Linked DNA regions of Homo sapiens: all the other regions are linked to region 7. Evidence: promoter capture Hi-C in 16 types of primary human blood cells and fetal thymus (Javierre and others, 2016). All regions are on one chromosome and are shown on one strand. The core of a region is centred on a gene start or on the middle of the fragment in contact, and the rest is flanking DNA. Distances in the headings are between cores, read along the strand shown.

The links. Contacts are between HindIII fragments. The CHiCAGO score rates a contact against its expected background, and 5 or more counts as called.
Region 1: a fragment that was not itself captured here is called in contact with the fragment with the promoter of PNPLA5 in region 7 in 4 of 17 cell types (M1 macrophages, M0 macrophages, endothelial precursors and 1 more); the score reaches 8.3 in M1 macrophages.
Region 2: a fragment that was not itself captured here is called in contact with the fragment with the promoter of PNPLA5 in region 7 in 1 of 17 cell types (endothelial precursors); the score reaches 5.0 in endothelial precursors.
Region 3: a contact is called between a fragment that was not itself captured here and the fragment with the promoter of PNPLA5 in region 7, in 4 of 17 cell types (total B cells, M1 macrophages, M0 macrophages and 1 more). The highest score is 6.5, in total B cells.
Region 4: a fragment that was not itself captured here is called in contact with the fragment with the promoter of PNPLA5 in region 7 in 1 of 17 cell types (M2 macrophages); the score reaches 5.7 in M2 macrophages.
Region 5: a fragment that was not itself captured here is called in contact with the fragment with the promoter of PNPLA5 in region 7 in 1 of 17 cell types (endothelial precursors); the score reaches 5.1 in endothelial precursors.
Region 6: a fragment that was not itself captured here is called in contact with the fragment with the promoter of PNPLA5 in region 7 in 3 of 17 cell types (total B cells, M0 macrophages and total CD4 T cells); the score reaches 7.2 in total B cells.

The regions. Positions count from the first base shown.
Region 1 is chr22:43,247,391-43,250,173 of GRCh38, reverse strand. All of the region lies in intron 6 of SCUBE1 (signal peptide, CUB domain and EGF like domain containing 1), which reads left to right. Among named protein-coding and RNA genes, the nearest start is that of SCUBE1-AS1, 27 kb to the left of the region's middle. RefSeq lists an enhancer at 2,142-2,643. The HindIII fragment of the contact is 2,897 bases long and covers 22-2,783 here.
Region 2 is chr22:43,217,235-43,219,934 of GRCh38, reverse strand. It overlaps SCUBE1 (signal peptide, CUB domain and EGF like domain containing 1), which reads left to right. Exons shown (of 22, transcript NM_173050.5): 15 at 1,477-1,680. Among named protein-coding and RNA genes, the nearest start is that of SCUBE1-AS2, 5.9 kb to the right of the region's middle. The HindIII fragment of the contact is 1,141 bases long and covers 866-2,006 here.
Region 3 is chr22:44,606,891-44,609,907 of GRCh38, reverse strand. LINC00229 (long intergenic non-protein coding RNA 229) reads left to right here. Exons shown (of 5, transcript NR_044991.1): 4 at 2,860-2,977. Among named protein-coding and RNA genes, the nearest start is that of LINC00229, 17 kb to the left of the region's middle. RefSeq lists an enhancer at 2,000-2,705. The HindIII fragment of the contact is 1,562 bases long and covers 525-2,086 here.
Region 4 is chr22:44,574,491-44,577,383 of GRCh38, reverse strand. No RefSeq gene overlaps it. Among named protein-coding and RNA genes, the nearest start is that of LINC00207, 6.6 kb to the right of the region's middle. RefSeq lists an enhancer at 2,632-2,893. The HindIII fragment of the contact is 6,735 bases long and covers 1-2,893 here.
Region 5 is chr22:43,368,277-43,371,230 of GRCh38, reverse strand. No RefSeq gene overlaps it. Among named protein-coding and RNA genes, the nearest start is that of SCUBE1, 26 kb to the right of the region's middle. RefSeq lists an enhancer at 1,097-1,598. The HindIII fragment of the contact is 4,109 bases long and covers 1-2,954 here.
Region 6 is chr22:44,557,547-44,560,446 of GRCh38, reverse strand. No RefSeq gene overlaps it. Among named protein-coding and RNA genes, the nearest start is that of LINC00207, 10 kb to the left of the region's middle. The HindIII fragment of the contact is 2,757 bases long and covers 1-2,711 here.
Region 7 is chr22:43,890,513-43,893,375 of GRCh38, reverse strand. It overlaps PNPLA5 (patatin like domain 5, triacylglycerol lipase), which reads left to right and starts at 1,363. Exons shown (of 9, transcript NM_138814.4): 1 at 1,363-1,688; 2 at 2,082-2,314. The coding sequence starts at 1,496. The HindIII fragment of the contact is 5,727 bases long and covers 1-2,863 here.

The sequences.
Region 1 (2,783 bases), core at 221-2,720, 640 kb after region 7:
TCTGTCCACTCCCTGGAAGCTTTGCTTGCTCAGGCGAATTTTTTAACTTCCCTCAGCCTGTTTCCTCAGCTGTAAAATGGTGATCGTGATAGCGTGTACTTCCTATCGATTTGAGGATGAAATGAGTGACTAAGTAGCAGGTGCTTAGCGCGGTGCCAGGCACGTAGGAAGCACTCACTGTGCATCAGCTGTGTGACGCAGTTGGGGCACTGAGGTGCAAAGCACCAGAAAGGGAAGCCGCCAGGGACAGATCTGCAGGTGAGCAGGCAGGGCCAGGTGGAGTCCCAGGCTTCCCCTGGCTTTTCCCCGCCCTTCTGCCCCTAGACCTGTCTCCCCAGCCATCCCGCCATCTATGTCCTGGCCACCCCCAGCCAAGCCCTCTGGGCCGCGTGGCTGCACTCAGGGCCCACTGTCCTGCTGGCAGGGGGAGAAGAGAGGAGCTTTCCCACTGCAGCTCACGGGGCTACAGCCTCACCCCTCTGAGCCCCGGGTTTCCCGTCCCCCAAATGGCCATGACCTGCTTCACCCTGCCAGGCTCAAAGGAGCTGGAAGGGAAAGAAAGGATGGAAGGGCCCAGCACACAGGCCAGAGCTTGGTAAGGGGCTGCTCATCCTGAGAAAAGCAGGCAGGGAGGCTGGAGAACTGGGAGGCCAGGGAAGACCGAGGAGAGTGGAGGCCACTGTGGAAATGGTGGCTGACACTTAGGGGGCACACACTGTGTCCCACACTGTCCCCAGCATCATTTAAGTGCACAGCCACCCTGAGCGGCATGGCCAATGTCACTTCTCATCGGGACATGTGCATTCCTGCTTCTCCCCGCTAGCTCCCCTCCACCCCAGCTCCCGTCCACCCCAGCTCCCCTCCACCCCGCCCGTACCTCCTCTTCTGCAGCGACCATCTCCAGGGTCCCGGGTGTCCCTGATTTCACCAATCTATGTCCCAGTCCCCACCCCGCACATTCACCCACTCCTGGAAGCCACCCTCTGCCTGTTCCTCTGGCCCTGCATGCTCAGCCTTTCCTGGACTCCCTGCCTCCAGGGGTCACATCCTCTTCTCTCTACCCAGGTGCCATCTTGGGTGGTTCTACCTGACAAAGGCTGCCTTTTGCTTGTCCTTCCTCCCCTGTCCCACCACTCACCCTTCCTCCACCAGCACCCCCTGACTGGGGGCAGAAGCTAGGTCTTTTCCAGCTTGGTGCCCCCCCTCAGGGCACAGCACAGGGCCTTGCCCAGAGCGGGAGCATGGGTGAGGCTAGTTGGCTCAGCACATGAATGAAGGCTTCCTGGAGGAGGTGCCCGGGGATGGATGGGGCCTCAGTGCCCAGGCAGGCAGGTATCCAGCTCAGAGAGAGGGCAGGCCCTGCAGCCTGGACGTGCTTGGAAGTGGGAAGGGACTCAGGCAGGTCTGAGTGCTGGTGAGGGAGGTGATATCACAGGGCCGCTCCCCAGGCCCAGTGCTCATCAGGTGGCCTGGCTGAAGGAAAGCGGGGGCAAGCCCCTCTCAAGTCGTGGCCTCCCTGCCCACTGAGCTCCAGGGACTGGGCTCCTGTTAGAGAAGGATCAGGTGGTCAGGCTACACCTCAGTCACTGGACTGGCTCCAAATATGGCTGGTGTCTGGTCAGCTGGGGCCCCCAGCCAGGTTGAGTCCTGGGCCCTGCCCTCAGTTGAGTCCCTCACTGTCTCACACTCACAGCTGGGGCTTGTAGGGGGAAGTAGGTGATGGCGACTCCGCTGTGCGGAGGGCTGGAGTGTGGGTGGAGTCGCAGTGCCAGGCAGGGCTTAGTAGAGAAAAGACGAGGGCTCGGGGCATTGCCTGGCCCAGATGGGAGGCTGAAGCCTAGAGGGGCTGTGGCCCACCCAGGCCACCTTGTGCGTTGGGCCTGGCACTCTTGGGTGGCCCTACCCCTCGCCCCCCAGCTTCCCTCCCACTGTACTCCATCCCAATGGAGGTGGGGCACACTTGACCCCCATCTGCTCCTTTTGGTCCTCAACTCTCATCTAATGTTTAAACATCCAAGACCACATCTCACTGCCTGCCCTGTTTCCTCTCTCCTAGATTCTGGCCCAGCCTCCCTGTCTCCCAGCCCCACCAGCTGTGAGGCCACGGCCAGAGCCCTCTTTGGCACAAATCTGAATAGGCTCCAGCCCTGCCTTAATCCTCCCCTAGGTTTCTTGGCCGCTGGTCTAAGTGGGCCCCAAAGCCCTTCGAGATGCAACCTCAGTGCCCTCTGTGACCTCCTGCCATTTTTGCTAATCCAGTCCTGACCCCCCGGCCCTGCAGGCCCACATGGTAATACTGATGTCCACTGGAGCTGTAATGGAAGGTGCCCAAGAACAGGGCACCCTCTTCACCTGCATTCTCAGGAGGAGCCCAAGTGTAAAAACAGGCCCGACCGGGCCCCTCTGCCACCCTGCCCGCTGGCTCCCTCTCACCCCACCTACCTGGGGGGCAACGGCCTGCTCCTCCTGCAGCCCTCCCCATCCAAGCCACCCTTGCCTCTCTCTAGTTGGATCCAGCTAAGGGCGGGCCAGGTGGTGACTGCAGGCCAAGGTTAGCCCTGACTTGACTGAGGAGTAGCAGGCAGCTCCCAGCAGCTCCCAGCAGCTCCCAGCTTCCTGAGGCGAGATTTCCTGGTCTGACCCAAGGAAGGTGGGTGGTTTCAGGTTGCTCAGCCAGGCTGTGTCATTGCTGTAAGGACCGTGCATTTGTTCTTAGAGCAGAGAAATCCGTGGTTGGAGCTTCACTCCAGTCAAGCACACGGTGATCCTTTCTGGTTATCCTG
Region 2 (2,700 bases), core at 187-2,686, 670 kb after region 7:
GAAAAGTCCCCACCCAGGTAACACTCTCAGCCAGAGAGGCAGACGCACGTGCAAACCACCCATTGCCAGGTGGGACTCTCGGTGGTGGGGGCACAAGAACAAACAATGCATAGAACTGAGGTCTGCCCCCCACGGGAGGGCTTAGGAAATGTCTTAGTCTGGCTGGGCACACTGGCTCACGCCTGTAATCCCAGCAGTCTGGGAGGGCCAAAGTGGGTGGATCACTTGAGTTCAGGAGTTCAAGACCAGCCTGGCCAACATGGTGAAACCCTGTCTCTACTAAAAATACAAAAATTAGCCAGGTGTGGTGGCAGGCACCTGTAATCCCAGCTACTCAGGAGGCTGAGGCAGGAGAATCGCTTGAACCTGGGAGGCAGAGATTGCAGTGAGCTGAGATCGCGCCACTGTGCTCCAGCCTGGCGACGAGTGAGACTCTATCTCAAAAAAAAAAAAAGGAAATGTTTTAGTCTATTTGCGTTGCTAAAAGGAACACCTGAGGCTGCATAATTTATCAGGAAAAGAGCTTATTGGCTCTCGGCTCTGCAGGCTGTCCGAGAACACGGCAGCAGCATCTGCCTGGCGAGGCCTTAGGCTGCTTCTGCTCACGGAGGAAGGTGAAGAGCAGCTGGCATCACATAGCAAGAGTAAGGGAGCAAGAGAGAGGGGAGGGGGTGCCTATGTCTTCACCAGTCACATCTCGTGGCGACTAGTAGAGCCAGCAAGAACTGACTACCACACCAGGCCATTCATGAGGGACCTACCCCATGACCCAGACACCTCCCACCAGGCCCCACCCCCAGCATTAGGGATCAGATTTCAACATGAGGTTTGGAAGAGACAAATATTGAAACCATATCAGGAAGCTTTCCCAGAAGAGGTGCCATTTGAATGAGAGCTTAGAATCAAAGCTCACTGGGTGGAAAAGGTGGCAAGGAATGGCATTCAGGCAGAGGGAATAGAATAGGCAAAGGCACAGAGGTCAGAGAGAGGAGGAGGTGTCCAGGAAGCAGTAAGTAGGGCCAGGTGGCTAGACATTGGAATCCACAGGGAGTGTCAGAGTGGAGGGGATGAGGCTGGCAAGGCCATACGGGGCTGGACCTTGAAGGGCCTTGGATTCAAGGCCAGAGAGCTGGACACTATCCTGGGGACAGTGGCAGTCCCCAAGAGTCTTTGAGTGACAGAAAGGCGTTCTTGCCCCGTGAGTCGTACCCTGGGGGGTGATGTGGTGCAGTGGCAGCTGCCTGGATTGCACTCAGATCTGCTGCGTGGCCGTGGGCAGGCCCTGCCTCCCAGGTCCGCAGCCTCCTCATCTGTCAGATGGGCATGACAGTGGCCCCTTGCCCCAGGACTGTTGTGAGAATGTGCTGAGGAGGTCCGAGCCCAGTGCAGGGCCTGGCACGGGGGAGCCCTCAGCTAAGAAGGCAGCGGCTAGCAAGGTTGCCAGCGATTCATGTTCTGTCTCTCCTGCCCCTGCAGACACATGCGAAGCGGACTGCTTGCGGAAGCGAGCAGAACAGAGCCTGCAGGCCGCCATCAAGACCCTGCGCAAGTCCATCGGCCGGCAGCAGTTCTATGTCCAGGTCTCAGGCACTGAGTACGAGGTAGCCCAGAGGCCAGCCAAGGCGCTGGAGGGGCAGGGGGCATGTGGCGCAGGCCAGGTGCTACAGGACAGCAAATGCGGTGAGTCCTTGCCCATGGCCACTCAGATGCTGACTCTGTCCTTCCTTGCACATGAGCCGGGGTAAACAGTGGTGGGCACGCAGGTGAGACAGACACCTGGGGAGGGGACAGAGAGATGCAGAGGCCTGCCGGGGAGAAGGACTGCAGCCCTCATGGTCATCACTGTCATTTGAAGAGCACTCCTCTGTGCTGGGCCTCGGGCATGTGATCACAGTCTGAGGAGGGACAAGGAGTGGACAGGACAGCAAGGCCACAGTCGAGGGGCGCGAGGGGGCACGGGAACCAGAACAGGCCCTCTCTAGTCTGGGATGTGGTTCAGGGAAGCTTCCTGGAGGAGAAGTCACGTTAGCTAAGACCTCAGGGCTCCAGGAGTTGGGGAGCCTGAGTCAGGGTCGGGGGACAGAGCAGGGATGTCGTGAGGCCTAGGGCCGCCCAGGAGGGCAGCGTCGTGCTGCAGGGAAGCAGGTGAGGCCGGCCCCCAGCGGGCGGGTGTGCGCTGGAGGGGAGAGCCTGGACGCAGGACAGGCAGAACCAGCACACGAGACAGTCCTAGTTCTAGTGGAGCTCACATGCCCGTGCGGAAGATGGACAGTGGGCCAGTGAACATGCCCACAGGTACAGTGAGGCCAGAGGTGATGGGGCCTGGCAGACACCACTCTTGAGTTGGATGGGGAGCCATAGGAATGCTTAGAGCAAGGACGCAGGCTCATGCGCGCTCTTACGGGAAGGCTGAGTAGCGGGGGCGGAGCAAGGACGGGGAGGAGCATGAGATGGAGGGGGCTCCTAGGGAGAGACAGACTTCAAGGACGACTCCAAGGGTTTGGCCAATTGGGCAGAGGTGGTATCGCTTCCTGACGCCGGCCAAATCCCCAAGGATTTGAGGAAGAGTGGGCTGGGGGGAGGGAAACTTGATGAAGAGTGGGCTGCGGGGATGGGGTGCGCAGGCTGGACATGTTCAGTCTGAGACGCTCACAAGTCATCCACATGGAGATGTTGGATGGGCAGTTGCAGCCACAAGTC
Region 3 (3,017 bases), core at 56-2,555, 720 kb before region 7:
GCTCATACTGTGCCCATGGATGGCTGGGTGATGGACATGGTGGGCAGGGCCTGGACCAGCTCTCTTGAGTCCTGGGTTTTCCTACCTCTGATCTGGGGTGGGGCGTGGTGGCACCAGATCCTTCCTCTTTGAGCTCCACTGTTCCAGTGCCCACTGAGGGGCCGTCACGGGGTGATAGGGGTCGGGATGTGGTGGTACTCTGGACAGCTCCTAGGTGCTGGGCAGATGTGCAAGGGTTTCATTATTATGGACAAGCATTTGGAGAGCAGAGCCCAGCCTCCTGCAAGTGGGGATCTGTTCGGAGGGACAGCCTAAGACCCCCTCGGGGAAGGGCGCTGCCTGCAGAGCTACCAAGATGCTGGAAACCTTGGACTGGCCCGTGCATGAGGGTGATCTGCAGGGCCTGGCTGCTCTCTGCCGAGCCCTTAAGAAGGGATGGGGCCATGCCCAGGCATCTCTGTGTCCCCAGGGGCCCAAGGAAGGGGCTCCGTGAGGTTGGCCAAGCAGCCGAGTCATAAGAAGCTTCATTTATGGGGGACGGTGCTGCTTCCAGAACACACTCTCCTCCATCTCCTTAAGGGCAAACGACCTTATAAGGGAGTCCTGGCACCTTCCCAATTTTTCAGGCTCAAGAGAGGCTCCCTCAATGAGGCAAGCAGAGTCCCTGCCCAGAGCCCCCAACTCCACACCTCCCCAGGATGCAGGCCCAGGAGAGGCCCCCTCGATGAGGCGAGCAGAGTCCCTTCCCGGAGCCCCCCAACTCCACACCTCCCCAGGACGCAGGCCCAGGAGAGGCCACACCCTTGTTTCTCTCCTGCTTCCCCAGCATGGCCTCAAGAATGCGGGAAACAGTTCTGGAGACAGTCAGATGAGTGTCTCACTGGTATCTTCCCCTGCCCAAGGACCCCCGTACCCCACCTATCCCGCCCTCTCCAGGCTGAAGCCTCCAGGGCTGAAAGCCAGGCCACCGGTCTAGCACTTGGGGGGTCCAGGGGCCCCATCATACCCTCCCCTGCTGTCTTGTGGGGAACCAGGGTGGGAGCTGCCCTTGGAAGCAGTCCAGGAGAGGGGACACTCCCTCTGATTGTTATGCAAATTGCTGGGCTTCGCTGATTACCATACATGCATATTAATCCTGCCTGGGCTGGGATGGGACAGGCTGTCTGGGCCTCATGGCAGGCTGCTTCGGGGCTGGTTTGGGAGCAGTTGAAAAGCAAAGGAAAGGAGGCTGCCTCTCTCTGGCCCTGCTTAAGTGAAAGGTAGATGAGGGTTTTGTCTCCAGGGGCCCTGCTGGGTTCAAGGTGCCAGATGCCTGTGGAGCCCCAGGAGGGTGAAGCACTGGCAGGCACACCTGGTGGGCTTGGAGGTGGGGCATAAGGGTATCTGGCCCCAGGGCATCCTTAGCGTGGTGACTAGCGTACCCCGGGAAACAGGCGGATGGAGGGTGAGGGTCAGGGCAGGAGGAGTCCACTGCCGAACTGGAGCCTGGACAGAATGGGCTGGCCTGGAGGGCACCGGCGCTACTCTGCTGCCCAAGTTCCACACCTGGATTCTGATATCAGCAACGCTCTGGAAGGCAGGACAGAGCATCCCCATTCTACAGATGAGAATGCAGAGGCTCAGACAGGGGAAGAGGCTTCCCCGAGGCCACACAGCGGGAGAGGGCCGGCACTGGAGCCCAGGCCTGCCTCACCGAGGGGTCCCCTCAGGTCCGTTCTGTGTCATGGAGTGGGAGGCTGGCCTGACCTGACAGCCAGCAGGTGAGGGCTCAGCTCTGTCTCTCTGAGCTGGGAGAAGTTGTGGTTCCCCTGATATGTGTGGGTTTCCTCCCTGGGAGATGCGCAAATCATCACACCTGCCCACTCGGCCACCGTGAGGGTTAAACGACAGAGCTCTAGGAATATACCTCACTCTAGCTGTTGTTGCTGGTCCTGGGAGCGTAAGTCGGGCGGGGAAGGGAAATGGGGCATCACCAAGGGGTCCTCTAGCAGTGCCTTAGGATCGGGAGAGGCTGCTGTGGCTGGGACCCAGTCTCAGACATCCAGAGCCTTCAGAACTTAGGGGCCCCAAGGAAGTCACTGAAGCTTCGTTTGTGGGGGATGTTGCTGTTTCCAGAACACTCTCCCACCTCCTGGATTCCGTCGGGTGAGGTTTTAAAGTCATACTCACAGGTGCTGGGGGTGAGGATCTCAACCTGTTTAGGGGACCGCATTTGTACCCACACCTCCCTTCCCTGCCGCACCTGACCCTGTGCCCCTTTGCTGTCTAGAACCTTCCTTTCTGCCCCATTTCTGAGGCCCCTTCCCTCTGAATGCCCCTCCCAGGCCTCCTCTTGGCCGTGTGTGTTCGGGGCCTGTCCCGGCTGCCTCCGCTCTTTCTGTGCCTCTCTCTGGGTCAACTCAAATTCTGATGGCTCCTGGTATCTCCACGACCCCGACTCTCTCATCTGAGCCTCTGCCTGTGCCCTCCTGCAACCCCCATGCATCCTCAGCCTTGGCATCCCCCGAGGAAGCCCCGGGCCCCTCAGTTCACCGCAGGCTGAGCCTCCCATCTCCCCTGGGGCTGCCGTTTTAGCTGCCCAGGCCAGGCACTGGGCGCCATGTCTGACCCTCCTCCTCCTCCATCCCCATCCTCCTTCCCCACCACCGGCCATCCCTCTGCTCCACCCCTGCTCAGGTCTCGCCTCCTCCCTGGGCCCCTGCCTGCACCTGACTGTTCTGCAGCCTCCACTCTCCTCCCTGGCAGTTTGCTGATGTCAATGCTGCAGGTGGCCTAGGCACTGCTACCCCTGGGCGAGGGGGTCTCCGTTTTCCAAATCTTGCTTTTTCACCACTGGAGCCCACCTTCTTATCCTCTTAGGTTGCCACGAAACATCCAATATTTGAAAGTGTTCTATGGACCTCAAAGGGCAAGAGACACCTTAAAATGTTTGCTGGATGGCTGTAGGAGGGTAGAGCCCTGGTGGGCACACCTGGTGGTGAGCTTGGAGGCGGTAGGAGGGTAGAGCCCTGGCGGGC
Region 4 (2,893 bases), core at 308-2,807, 680 kb before region 7:
TCCCTACTGAGCTGAAGTCTGCCCCTGTGTAGCATGCCTCTGGGATCTTACCTTCAACCGGCCTGGAGTTATTCCCAGGACCCAGCAGAGGAAATGGACGCGCCTGCTACTGTTTAGTTATTTGCTGGTCTCCCCAAGGGTTCTGTGTGCTAATGACAATGGCCTCCACTTTCCAAGGGCTCTGGGACAAGTGCAGGGCTGGGCACCTCCCCTGTCTGAGGTTGTCAATTCCTTACAACAAATCCAAGAGTCCGAGATTTCCTCGCCCTTCCGTAGATGAGATCGTGGAAGCACAGAGGTGGGAAGGGACTTGCTCAGGGTCACACGGCTGGTCCATGGAAGCAGGATCCCAGGCTAGGTTGGGCTGCTCCACCCTCTGTGCCGTGGTGTGATCCGGTGCCCATTTTCCCCACCTCTATGAGGACCAGGCTCCCTCTGAGATCGCCTGTTCGGTCCCCACATGCTCTGCAGGGAAAGTGGTCTCAGTTCTGGACAACCTCACTGAGTGGTTCTGGCCCATTTTCTGTCTTCAGGCTGGTGCCTCAGGGTTTCTAGGGCCTAGACTGCACCCCCAGTGAGAGAGGATCCCCCCAGCTTTGCACTCCTTTCTAGCAGACCACAGCTGGGCCACACGGGCACCTGGCTGCCCCACAGCTCCCTCAGTCTCCATCCCAGCTGGCTGCCCACACGCTTCTGCTCAGGGCTTGGCAAAATGGCCCTGCTCATCCAAAGCAGGCATCCTGCTGAGCCTCAGATGCCTGCAAGGCCAGTGAGGAGCTGTTCCTCCCACACACCTGGCCACACAGGACCCTGACTGCACAGGCCAGTGCCATCACAGCCTCCCCTTTCCCAGGGCTGGGGACCGACTCTCTCCTCTCTGCTCCAGCCACGGTGGCTTCCTGGCGTCCATCCAGTGCACCAAGCTCACTTCTGCCTCAGGGCCTTGGCACCTGCTGTCCCCTCTGCCTGTGATGCCATTGATCCAGTTACTCTTGTGCCCACTCCTTCTAATTTGGGCATCTTCCCAAATGCCACTTCCTTGTAGGGCTTTCCCTGGCCACCCCATCTCCCGTGGCCTCTCAGCACTTCACATCTCTCCTGACCGTTATCCTGTTCTAATCTCTTCTTAGCACATGGCAACACGTGCAGGTGCAGTACTTAATTTTCTTCTCTGCCTCCTCCTCTTCCTCCTCCTTCCTCTTCCTTCCGCCTCCTTCTCTTTCTCCTCCTTCTTTCTCTTACTCCTCCTCCTTCCTCTTCCTCCTCCCTCCTCCTCTACCTCCTCCCTCCTCCTCTTCCTCCTCCTCCTCTTCCTCCCTTTCCTCCTCTTCCTCCTCCCTCCTCCTCTTTTTCCCCCTCCTCCTCTTCCTCCTTCCTTCTTCCTCCCTCCTCCTCCTCTTTCTCCCCTTCTCCTCCTTCTCTTCCTCCCCTTCTTTCTCCTCCTCCTCTTCTTCCCTCTCCTCCCTCTTTTCTTCCTCTTCTTCCTCTTTCTCCTCCTCCCTTCTTGTTCCTCTTCCTCCCTCCTCCTCCTCTTTCTCCCTTTCTCCTCCCTCTCTTCCTCTCCTTCTTTCTCCTCTTTCTCCTCCCCCTCCTCCTCTTCTTTCCCCTTCCTCCTTCCCTTCTTCCTCTTCCTCCTTTCCCTCTTCCTCTTCCTCCTTTCCCTCCTCTGCTTCTCTCTTCTTCCTCCTCCTCCCTTCTTTCTTCTTCTCCTCCTCCTCTTCCTTCTCCCATCCCCCTTCTCCTTGTCATCCTCCTCCTCCTCTGTGTCCCAGCAGCACATTGGCTCCAGGAGAAGTTGCTCTTGTCTGCTCTGCCTGCTGCTGGGTGCTGGGCACCTAGAATCGTGCCTGCTCACAGTAAGTGCTGGGCGAGCGTTTACTGACTGAGCAGTTACATGTGCCTGGGGGTCTCGTGAGATGGAGGAAGAACAGATCTTGGTGCCAGACTCTATAAAACCGTGTGGCCTGGATGACTCACAGGGCCTCCCTGAACCCCAGCATCTATTTCTGTAAAATTGGGGAAAGGACACCAACCTGCCTCAAAGATTCCACTCCAGGTGGGACCTAGGTGGGAGGTGCCCAGCCCACAGGATGCAGGGCAGCTTACAACGCACCCTGGCTTCTCAGCCAGAGCCTCCCAGGCTCCCCACCTTAGCCTCCCACACACCACTCAGGCATCCACAACACATTTAATTTGATTTAGGGAGGGAAATCTCTATTTTTTCGGTGGTGTTAGCATTGACGGTCTATTTCCTGCTTGGGACTCAGTGCCGAGTTGGCATTAATGTAGAAAAATTAGTATTATCAGGGCTGCTTTCAGAGCCATCGCTCACACTGCAGCCCGTGACACGTTAATTAAACTTGATAAATGCTCTTGTCTAAAGATAACTTTTGAACAAAGGATCCAGTCACCTTATTAGCTGGCTACATGCTCTGGTAAATTGCCTGGGAGGCTTTTGGAACTCCCTAGGGCCTGTGGCTGGGGACCGCAGGGCTCTGTCTTGGGGAGAGGGCTTCTCGGCTCTCCCAGTTCTGGGGATGGGCAGTCGCGCTATGGCGGGGGCACCCTACACGTCCCAGGGGCTGGGGAGGGCACTGTGGACCTGGAGGGCAGGATGGGTGTCTCAACCCAGCTCCCACCGTGGGCTCCGTCCTCTTCCGATTTGCAGTTCCCTTCACAAGCCCCTTCCGGCTCAGCAGCCTGCCCTATCACCATAACAATCCCATCCCACATGAACCATCCATCAGGAAGCCCACCAATATGACGGCTGCCCCCGCTGTGGCGTGGTCCTTGGGGCCCATCCTGCAGTGGTGTCATCTTCATGCCATTCAGCTACCGGTCCTCCTCTCCCTCCTTCTCTTTCTCCTCCTTCATCCTCCTCCTCTTCTTCCTC
Region 5 (2,954 bases), core at 208-2,707, 520 kb after region 7:
AGAGGACAGTCATTTATTTGCTGCTGGAAGCCATTTACATGAATTGACTCATTGAAAGCAAGGCCAGGTAGAAGGCAATCAACCAAGAGGCTGAAGAATTTGTCCAGGATCACACAGCTAAGTGGCAGAAGGAGGACTAGAACCCGGAAAAGTGGCTTAGAACTCCATGCCCTTCACCACTGACAATGCTGGTGTCCTAAAAACAGGTCTGAGGGTGGGGGGCAGGTGCGCACAGTGAGTAGGGGTCAGGAGGCAGCGATATCCTCACCTTCCAGAAACAGAGGTCAACCAATGAGGCTGACAACTAAAAAAAAAAAAAATCAAGATGGAGTCTCAGAGGCCAGGCAGAGTGGCTCATGCCTGTAATCCCAGCACTTTGGGAGGCTGAGGCAGGCAGATCACCTGAGGTCAGGAGTTCAAGACCAGCCTGAGCAACATGGCAAAACCCCACCTGTACTAAAAATACAAAAATCAGCCAGGTGTGGTGGCGGGCGCCTGTAATCCCAGCTACTCAAGAGGCTGAGGCAGGAAAATCACTTGAACCCAGGAGGAAGAGATTACAATAAGCCGAGATCATGCCACTGCACTCCAGTCTGGGCGACAGAGCAAAGACTCCGTCACAAAAAAAAAAAAAAAAAGATGCAGTCTCAGAGGCAAATGACACAGGGTAAAAACAAAATAATTGGTTAAAGGAGGTGAAATAGTTGCCTCTGGGGAGGGGACAGGAGGGGGTGAAGGACAGGAACAGGGAACTGCTGTTCCTCTTAACAAACCTTGTAGAGCTATTTGCCTGTATAAGTTTCATGAAAATAAAAGCTAAAAATAAAGAGAAGAAATAAACACTGTTCCCGGATCCTAGACAGAGCCTGCAAGCCAGGGCTGCCAGGTGAGGCCCCGGGGACGGGGTAGCCATGGCTTTTCCTGTTTGCCCTGGAGACTTTGTCTTTGACTTGGGAGACACCCTCTGGCCCTCCAACACCAAGCACGGTGGTTGGGGGTTGGGGGTGGTTCCCCGTGTGAGTTACGGCCCCAGATTGGTTGACGATCCCAGCAGGGAGGGAATCGCCTGCCTGTGGAAGACCCCAGCTGCACCAATCTTCCTGCTCATTCAGGGGCTGCTGGGCTTGACCTATCGATGTCAGTTGCAAATGAGGGGTCCTCCCACAGCTGCTCAGCCAGCCCCTCATCTGAGACCCGTGCTCCAAAAAAGAAGCTGGGGCGGCAGAGGGCTGTCACCTCACACGCTAATGACATGGGCACGGACATAAGAGGCCCCCAAGAGACACACCAAGCACCTGAGGTCACAGAGACAAAGTAGAATCCACAGAGCAGTGGTGCCCCAGGGAGGCAGGAGACCCTCATCCCATCTCCAATCCCACCCTGGTCCCCACTCCCCAGTCCAGATGGGACTCCCTGCCTCTTTCCCAGATGTCCCCCACACTGACTCACTGTGGGCGGCAGCTTTTACGTAAGAGGGCCAAGTGATGGCCCCCACAACAGATCATCTGAGGCTGAGTATTAGACACCACTGCATATCCACCACGCCCCTCTTTTTCTCTTCCTGTCAAACTCAGTAATGGAGACAACCTCCTTCCTCTGGGAGTTTCAGATGCAGAGGCAAACTTTTCCCTCTCACAGCTATGATAACGGTGTCGTCTCATCTGGCCCTTAGCAATTTTTGAACCCCAGCACATCCAGCTAGTGGAATTAATACTTCTCAGGGTTCCTTCGAGGGCCAAATGAATCATGCAGGCTGGGGTATTTTGGGAAATAAAAGGGTGAGAAATCCAAAGAATATTTTGAGAAATGTGCGCAATCAGCCCTCTCAGATGTTCAAATAGATGATTAAGTCTCTGATTAAACAGCAGAGCTGGCATGAATGGAACTGACCAGAGAGCAGAGAAATGTTCTCATGTACATGAATTTAATACATGACCAAGCTGTCTTCAGTGGGCAAAGAACAATGGAAGGAGTAGCCAATATAAAAGCAGCTTGGGGGTCGGGCGCAGTGGCTCACACCTGTAATCCCACCACTTTGGGAGGCCGAGGCAGGTGGATCACCTGAGGTCAGGTGTTCAAGACCAGCCTGACCAACATGCAGAAACCCCGTCTCTACTAAAAATACAAAATTAGCCAGGCGTGGTGGTGCATGCCTGCAATTCCAGCTACTTGGGAGGCTGAGGCAGGAGAATCGCTTGAACCGGGGAGGCGGAGGTTGCAGTGAGCCAAGATCACACCATTGCACTCAGCCTAGGCAAAAAGAACAGAACTCCATCTCAAAAAAAAAAAAAAATCAGCTTGGATGCCTTCTTCATATCTTTCACAGATGCTGAAAAAAATAAATTATTTATCAAGCAAAGCAAACCCTAGGAGGGCTGGTCAAAAATATAAGTGAATATTAACCAGATCTCAGGAGGAATGGGAAGTCTTCGAGCTTTAAAATCATTAAGGAGATTTTTTTTTTGAGGAGAAGCAAAAGTGATTGACGACTATATAAAAACAAAAAACAAATCTCCCATACCACAGAATAAAAAACTAATGGGGGTAGAGGGGAACTAAATTGACAACCAAATGAATGGCAAAGGGTTAATATCAATAATCTGTGAAAACACTACACTGGCTGGTAAGAAAAGCCTTAAACCAACAGGGTTTTTATTTTCTTTTATTTTTTGGAACTTGACGAAATGATACCAAATTTCATCTGGAAAAATAAACGTGCGAGACCAGCCAGGGAAATTCTGAGGAAAAACAAAAGTAGTGGAGGAGGGCTGGCTTTACCAGATGTTAAAACATCTTAGGAAAGTACAATAACTTTTAAAGTTTAGCCCTGGAAAAGAAGTAGACAGTTCCATCCAGACGCGAGTGCAGAAATGGATGGAAATATGTAGGATTTCAGCACGTGAATGAGAGAAGGAATTTCACATCGGAGGGGAAAGGTGCATTGTTCAAAGTAA
Region 6 (2,900 bases), core at 84-2,583, 670 kb before region 7:
CATGTGCTGATCAGTACTCAGCTAAAGAATGGAGGGTAACCCCTCAGGGTTATAGATGTAGGTATAGTCAGTTGTTTGGGTACCATTTGTTAAAAAGTTTTTTCTTTTCCTTAACTTGCTTTAGCACCTAAGGTAAAAAGAAATCAATTGACCGTATAAACATGAGTTTCCTTCTGGCCTCTATTCTGTTCTAGTGCTTTTATTTGTCTATGTTTATGCCATTATTGTACTGTCTTCACTATCATAACTTTATAGCAAGTCTTGAAATTATGTCGTAAAAGTCCTCCAAACTTATTTTTCTTTTTGAACTTTTTTTTTTGGCTATTCAATGTTTTCCAATTTCTGCATACGTTTTGGAATCAACTGTGATGCTTGTAAGATTCCAGAGGCCCTCACAGAAGCTAAGCAGATGTTGAAGCCGTGGTTGTACAGTCTGCAGAACCATGAGCCAATTAATTATCTTTTCTTTATGAATTATTCAGTCTCATGTATTTCTTTATAGCAATGCATGAGTGGTCTAACACAGAAACTGTACTGAGGAGTGGGTCTCAGGTGAGACTTTAGACCAGATGTGGGGCTTTTGAGTTAATGGTGGAATAAGTTAAGATTTCAGGGGACTATTGGGAAGGTATGATTGTATTTTGCAATGTGAGAAGGACATGAGATTTGGGGGCGCCAGGGGCAGAATGATGTAGTTTGGATATTTGTCCCCACTCAAATCTCACGTTGATTACCTTCAATGTTGCAGGTGGGGCCTGATGGGAGGTGATTGGATCATGGGGGTGGATCCCTTATGGCTTGGTGCTGTTCTCCGCGTAGTGAGTGCGTACTCATGAGACCTGCTTGTTTAAAAGTGTGTGTCGCGGCCTGGCGTGGTGGCTCACGCCTGTAATCCCAGCACTTTGGGAGGCCGAGGCGGGTGAATCACGAGGTCAAGAGTTCGAGATCAGCTTGGCCAATATGGTGAAACCCTGTCTCTACTAAAAAAAAAATACAAAAATTAGCTGGGCATGGTGGCACGTGCCCGTAGTCCCAGCTACTCGGGAGGCTGGGGCAGAAGAATCGCTTGGACCCATGAGGCGGAGGTTGCAGTGAGCAAAGATCGTGCCACTGCACTCCAGCCTGGGCAACAGAGTGAGACTCCATCTCCAAAAAAAAAAAATTAAAAAAAAAAAAAAAAAGGAAAAGTGTGCGTTGCTGCTCCCCCATCTCCTTTGCTCTGCTCTTGCCATGTGAGGTGCCTGCCTCTCCTTCACCTTCTGCTATGACTGCAAAGTTCCAGAGGTCCTTGACGGAAGCCAAGCAGATGTTGGTGCCATGCAGAATTGTGAGCCAATTCAACTTCTTTTCTTTATTTTTAAAAAAGAATCAACTTTTAACTTTAAAAATGACTGCTAGGGCTGGGCGCGGTGGCTGACACCTGTAATCTCAGCACTTTGGGAGGCCGAGGTGGGTGGATCACTTGAGGTCAGGAGTTCAAGACCAGCCTGAGCAATATGGTGAAACCCCGTCTCTACCAAAAATACAAAAAAATTAGCTGGGCGTGGTGGTGCGTGCCTGTAGTCCCAGTGACTCACAAGGCTGAGGCAGGAGGATTGCTTAAGCCCGGGAGACAGAGGTTGCAGTGAGCTGAGACTGTGCCACTGCCCTCCAGCTTGGGTGACAGAGTGAGACTGTCTGAAACAAAACAAAACAAAAAAAACAAATCAAAACAAAAAAAATGACTACTGAGATTAAATTATTTAAAAAACATTATCATTGAGCTATAATTGACATATAATAGATGACACACATTTAAAGTACACAGTTTAGTAAGTTATGAAGCGTGTGTTCATGTGTGGGCCATCGTCACAATCAAGACAATGGACATGAGCCTCAGCCCCAGGAGTTTTCCTCTGACTCTTCTGTTTCCTTAATGCCCAACCCACCCTGGCCCCTAGGCAATCACCGATTTGCTTTTTGCCACTATAGATTGGTTTGTCGAGATTTTGATTGGGATTGCATTGAATCATTAGATAAATTTGGGGCAAATTGCTATCTTATAAATATTGAATCTTCCAGTCAATGATCATGGTATCTCTCCCCGTTTGCTTATTTCGTCTTTATTTTATCTCAGTACACATTACTATTATTATTATTATTATCATTAGAGATGGAGCCTGGCTCCCAGGCTGGAGTGCAGTGGCATGATCTCTGCTCACTGCAGCCTCCACCTCCCGGGTTTCAGCTATTCTCCTACCTCAGCCTCCTGGGTAGCTGGGATTACAGGCACCCACCACCACACCTGGCTAATTTTTGTATTTTTTTATTAGTAGAGACAGGGTTTCATCATGTCGGCCAGGCTGGTCTCAAACTCCTGACCTCAGGTGATCCTCCCGCCTCGCCTCCCAAAGTATTAGTATTAGAGGCATGAGCCACTGTGCCTGGCCTGTACACATTATTTTATAGCCTTTAGTGTAGAGGCTTTACATGTATTTTATTAAATGTATTCCTAAGTATTTGATGTTTTTTATGGTATTGCAAAGGTATCACTTTTAATATCAGTCATTACAGTGTATAGAAATGTGTCTTTCTCTATTGCCTTTTTATCCTGTGACCTTGTTAAATTTGCTTTCTAGTAAAGCAGTTAAAAGATCCCTTAGCATTTCCAACATATATAATATTATCTGTGAATAAAGACAGGTCTATCTCTTTCTTTCCATTTGTAAGCTTAAACATTTTTTTTCCTGCTGAGTTTCCCTGGGCAGGCCCTCCAGTCTAATGTTGAAGAGAAAGCTCACATCCCTGCCTTGCTTTGAATCTTCGGGAGGAAGCATTTATTCTTCATGGTGATGTGTGATGCGAACTGTAGAATTTTGTTGAGCTTTGTTTGTACACACCTTCCATCAGGTTGCGGAAGT
Region 7 (2,863 bases), core at 114-2,613:
CAGGTCAAGGAAGAGGTAGGTGTGAGGCTAAGAGAAGCAGATCCTCCCACCTCTTCCTCCGAAAATGACCCACCCAGGCCATGGGCTGAGCATTCAGTCCACAAACACTGTGCCACACTTCTTCCAGGCACAGATGGAGGACCTGGCCCTCAAGGAGCTCACATGAGAAGGCACTGATATGTGCCATGTGATTAAAGCAGTAACACAGGGATGGGCGCAGTGGCTCCTGCCTGTAATCCCAGCACTTTGGGAGGCTGAGGTGGGCAGATCATCTGAGGCCAGGAGTTCGAGACCAGCCTGAGCAGCATGGTGAAACCCTGTCTCTACCGAAAATAACAAAAATTAGCTGGGCGTGGTGGTGCGTGCCTGTAGTCCCAGCTACTTGGGAGGCTGAGGCAGGATAATTGCTTGAACCTGGGAGGTGGTGGTTGCAGTAAGCCGAGATTGTGCCACTGCACCCCAGCCTGGGTGACAGAGTGAGACTCTGCCTCAAAATTAAATAAATAAATAAATAACATAGCGGTTGCCATTGATTGTGCGCCACTTGATTAAAACAATCACCGTAGTAACCATTGTTTGTGTGCTTATCCAGTGCCGGGCGCTATTCCAAACACGTTACTTGCATTAACTCTAATCCTTACCGGTCCTATGGAGTAAGTAATGTTATTATCCCCACTTGATGGATGAGAAAACTGAGGCACAGATCAGTTAAATTATCCAGGGTCACCAGCCAAGACATTCTGGAGCCAGAATTGGAGCCCAGACAGCCCTAATCACTACAAACCCAAGTTCTTGGAGCTTTGCAGTTTATAAAGCACTTTCCAATGGATTGATTAGGGGAGGAGGGAGGAGGTGGGATGTTTGAGCAGGCTGTAGTGGTAGGTGAGGCTTGGAGAGCGGGTGAGCCAGGGGAAGGTGCAGTGGTGCTGGCTGGAGCGGAGGCTGGCCCCGAGACCTCTCTTTCCCTCAAGTCCCTCCCTGGAACCAGCACAGCTGCGGACTTAAGCCTGGTTTGACCCCAAAGACCAGGTGTCCTGGGTCCGACTCTGCCACTTCCTGGCTGTCACCATCCTGGGCTGCGCCTCAGTTGCCTCATTTGCGTAATGAGGACTGGAATAACATCTGCCCAGACTACCAGAGATCAGGCAAGATTTGGTCCCACTCCCCTGCCGTGTCACCCAGAAATCTATGACCCGATGCGGATCCGGGGCGGGCGCGTGGGGGCGGCGCCAGCGTATACACAGCGCGCGGGCACTTCTGGGGCACACCTGGCGCACAACTGGAGTGGGGGCTGATCGCGACCCGGGGACTTCATTGGCTGGGGCGCAGGTGACGCAGCCCGGGGGCGGCGCAGGGAGCACCAGCACCAGCCCCAGCCCGGCTCCCTCCAGAGCCCACATTTGGGCCCAGCCCCGTCCAAGGCTGCATCCCGGCCCTATCCCGGGTCACGGAGTGACCCTTCCTCGTCCCGATCACCCCGCCCGGTCCACCCGCCATGGGCTTCTTAGAGGAGGAGGGCAGATGGAACCTGTCCTTCTCCGGCGCCGGCTACCTGGGCGCCCACCACGTGGGCGCCACCGAATGCCTGCGCCAGCGAGCCCCGCGCCTCCTCCAGGGCGCCCGCCGCATCTACGGTTCCTCGTCTGGGGCGCTCAACGCAGTCAGCATCGTCTGCGGCAAGTCGGTCGGTGAGTCCCGGACCGCGGGGGCGAAAAGGGGCGGGGACAGCTTAATGAAAGCGGATCGAGCCCAGAGACGCTGGTGCCTGGCGCTGTGCTCTGCGCCCTCTACCCCCGGCACAGCCTCATTTAATCCCATGAGAACACCGAGTGCTGGGGACTAGGTGACCCCCATTTGCAGAGGAGGGATCGTGGCTCAGAGCCAGAAACTCTGTTTCCCAGGTCGGCGGGGCAAAAAGTGAAAAGGTGAACGGATCATTTGAATCCGGGGCCGAGCCCAGAAATTCTGAGCTGGAGTGGGGAGGACCCCGCTCCCACTGCACCTAGGAGGGCAGTGGGGGTGTGGAGGGACTGGCAGGATCCCTGGGCGCTGAGGTCTCCCTTTCCCTGCCCCCACTGCAGACTTCTGCTGCTCCCACCTCCTGGGCATGGTTGGGCAGTTGGAGCGGCTGAGCCTAAGCATCCTGCACCCGGCCTACGCGCCCATCGAGCACGTCAAGCAGCAGCTGCAGGATGCTCTGCCCCCCGACGCCCACGTCCTGGCCTCCCAGCGGCTGGGCATTTCGCTGACCCGCTGGCCTGACGGACGCAACTTCTTGGTCACTGACTTCGCCACCTGCGATGAGCTCATCCAGGTGTGGGGCGGGGGGTGCCCAGGGCTTGGCTGGTGGGCGGGCTCCATCTAGTCCAGAGTGACATCCAGGTACTTCCCCGTCAGACGTTTCTGCAGGGGCGGAAGGAGGGAGGGCGGGTGGACCTGTTTGTAGGTGAGGAAACTGAGGCCCAGAGAGGGTCGGCAGGGTGGGTCTGGAGACTTTCCAGGTTGCTGCACACAGAAGGGTCTGGCTGGGGCCCGGCAGAGTCAGGCTGCTGAGTCAGGGCCCCCACAGGGACTGCTCTTTCCAGAGGGCAGCTGGCTAGCCCCAGCCTCCACCCCACTCCATCCTCCCGCCGCTTTTTGGCGGTGGGTTGACATTTATTGAACACCTATTATGTGCCAGTCACTATTCTAGGCACTGTGACTGTAACAGGGAGCAAAACAGACAGAAACCCTTGCCTTCCTGGGGCTTCTATGCTCAGTGGTTCTGGGGGGCAGGCGGTATCGATAATGAACTCATCTCCAAGTAAGGAGGTAAGGAACCATCCAGTATTGAAATGAAATAGGATGTCTAAAAAAGATGCTT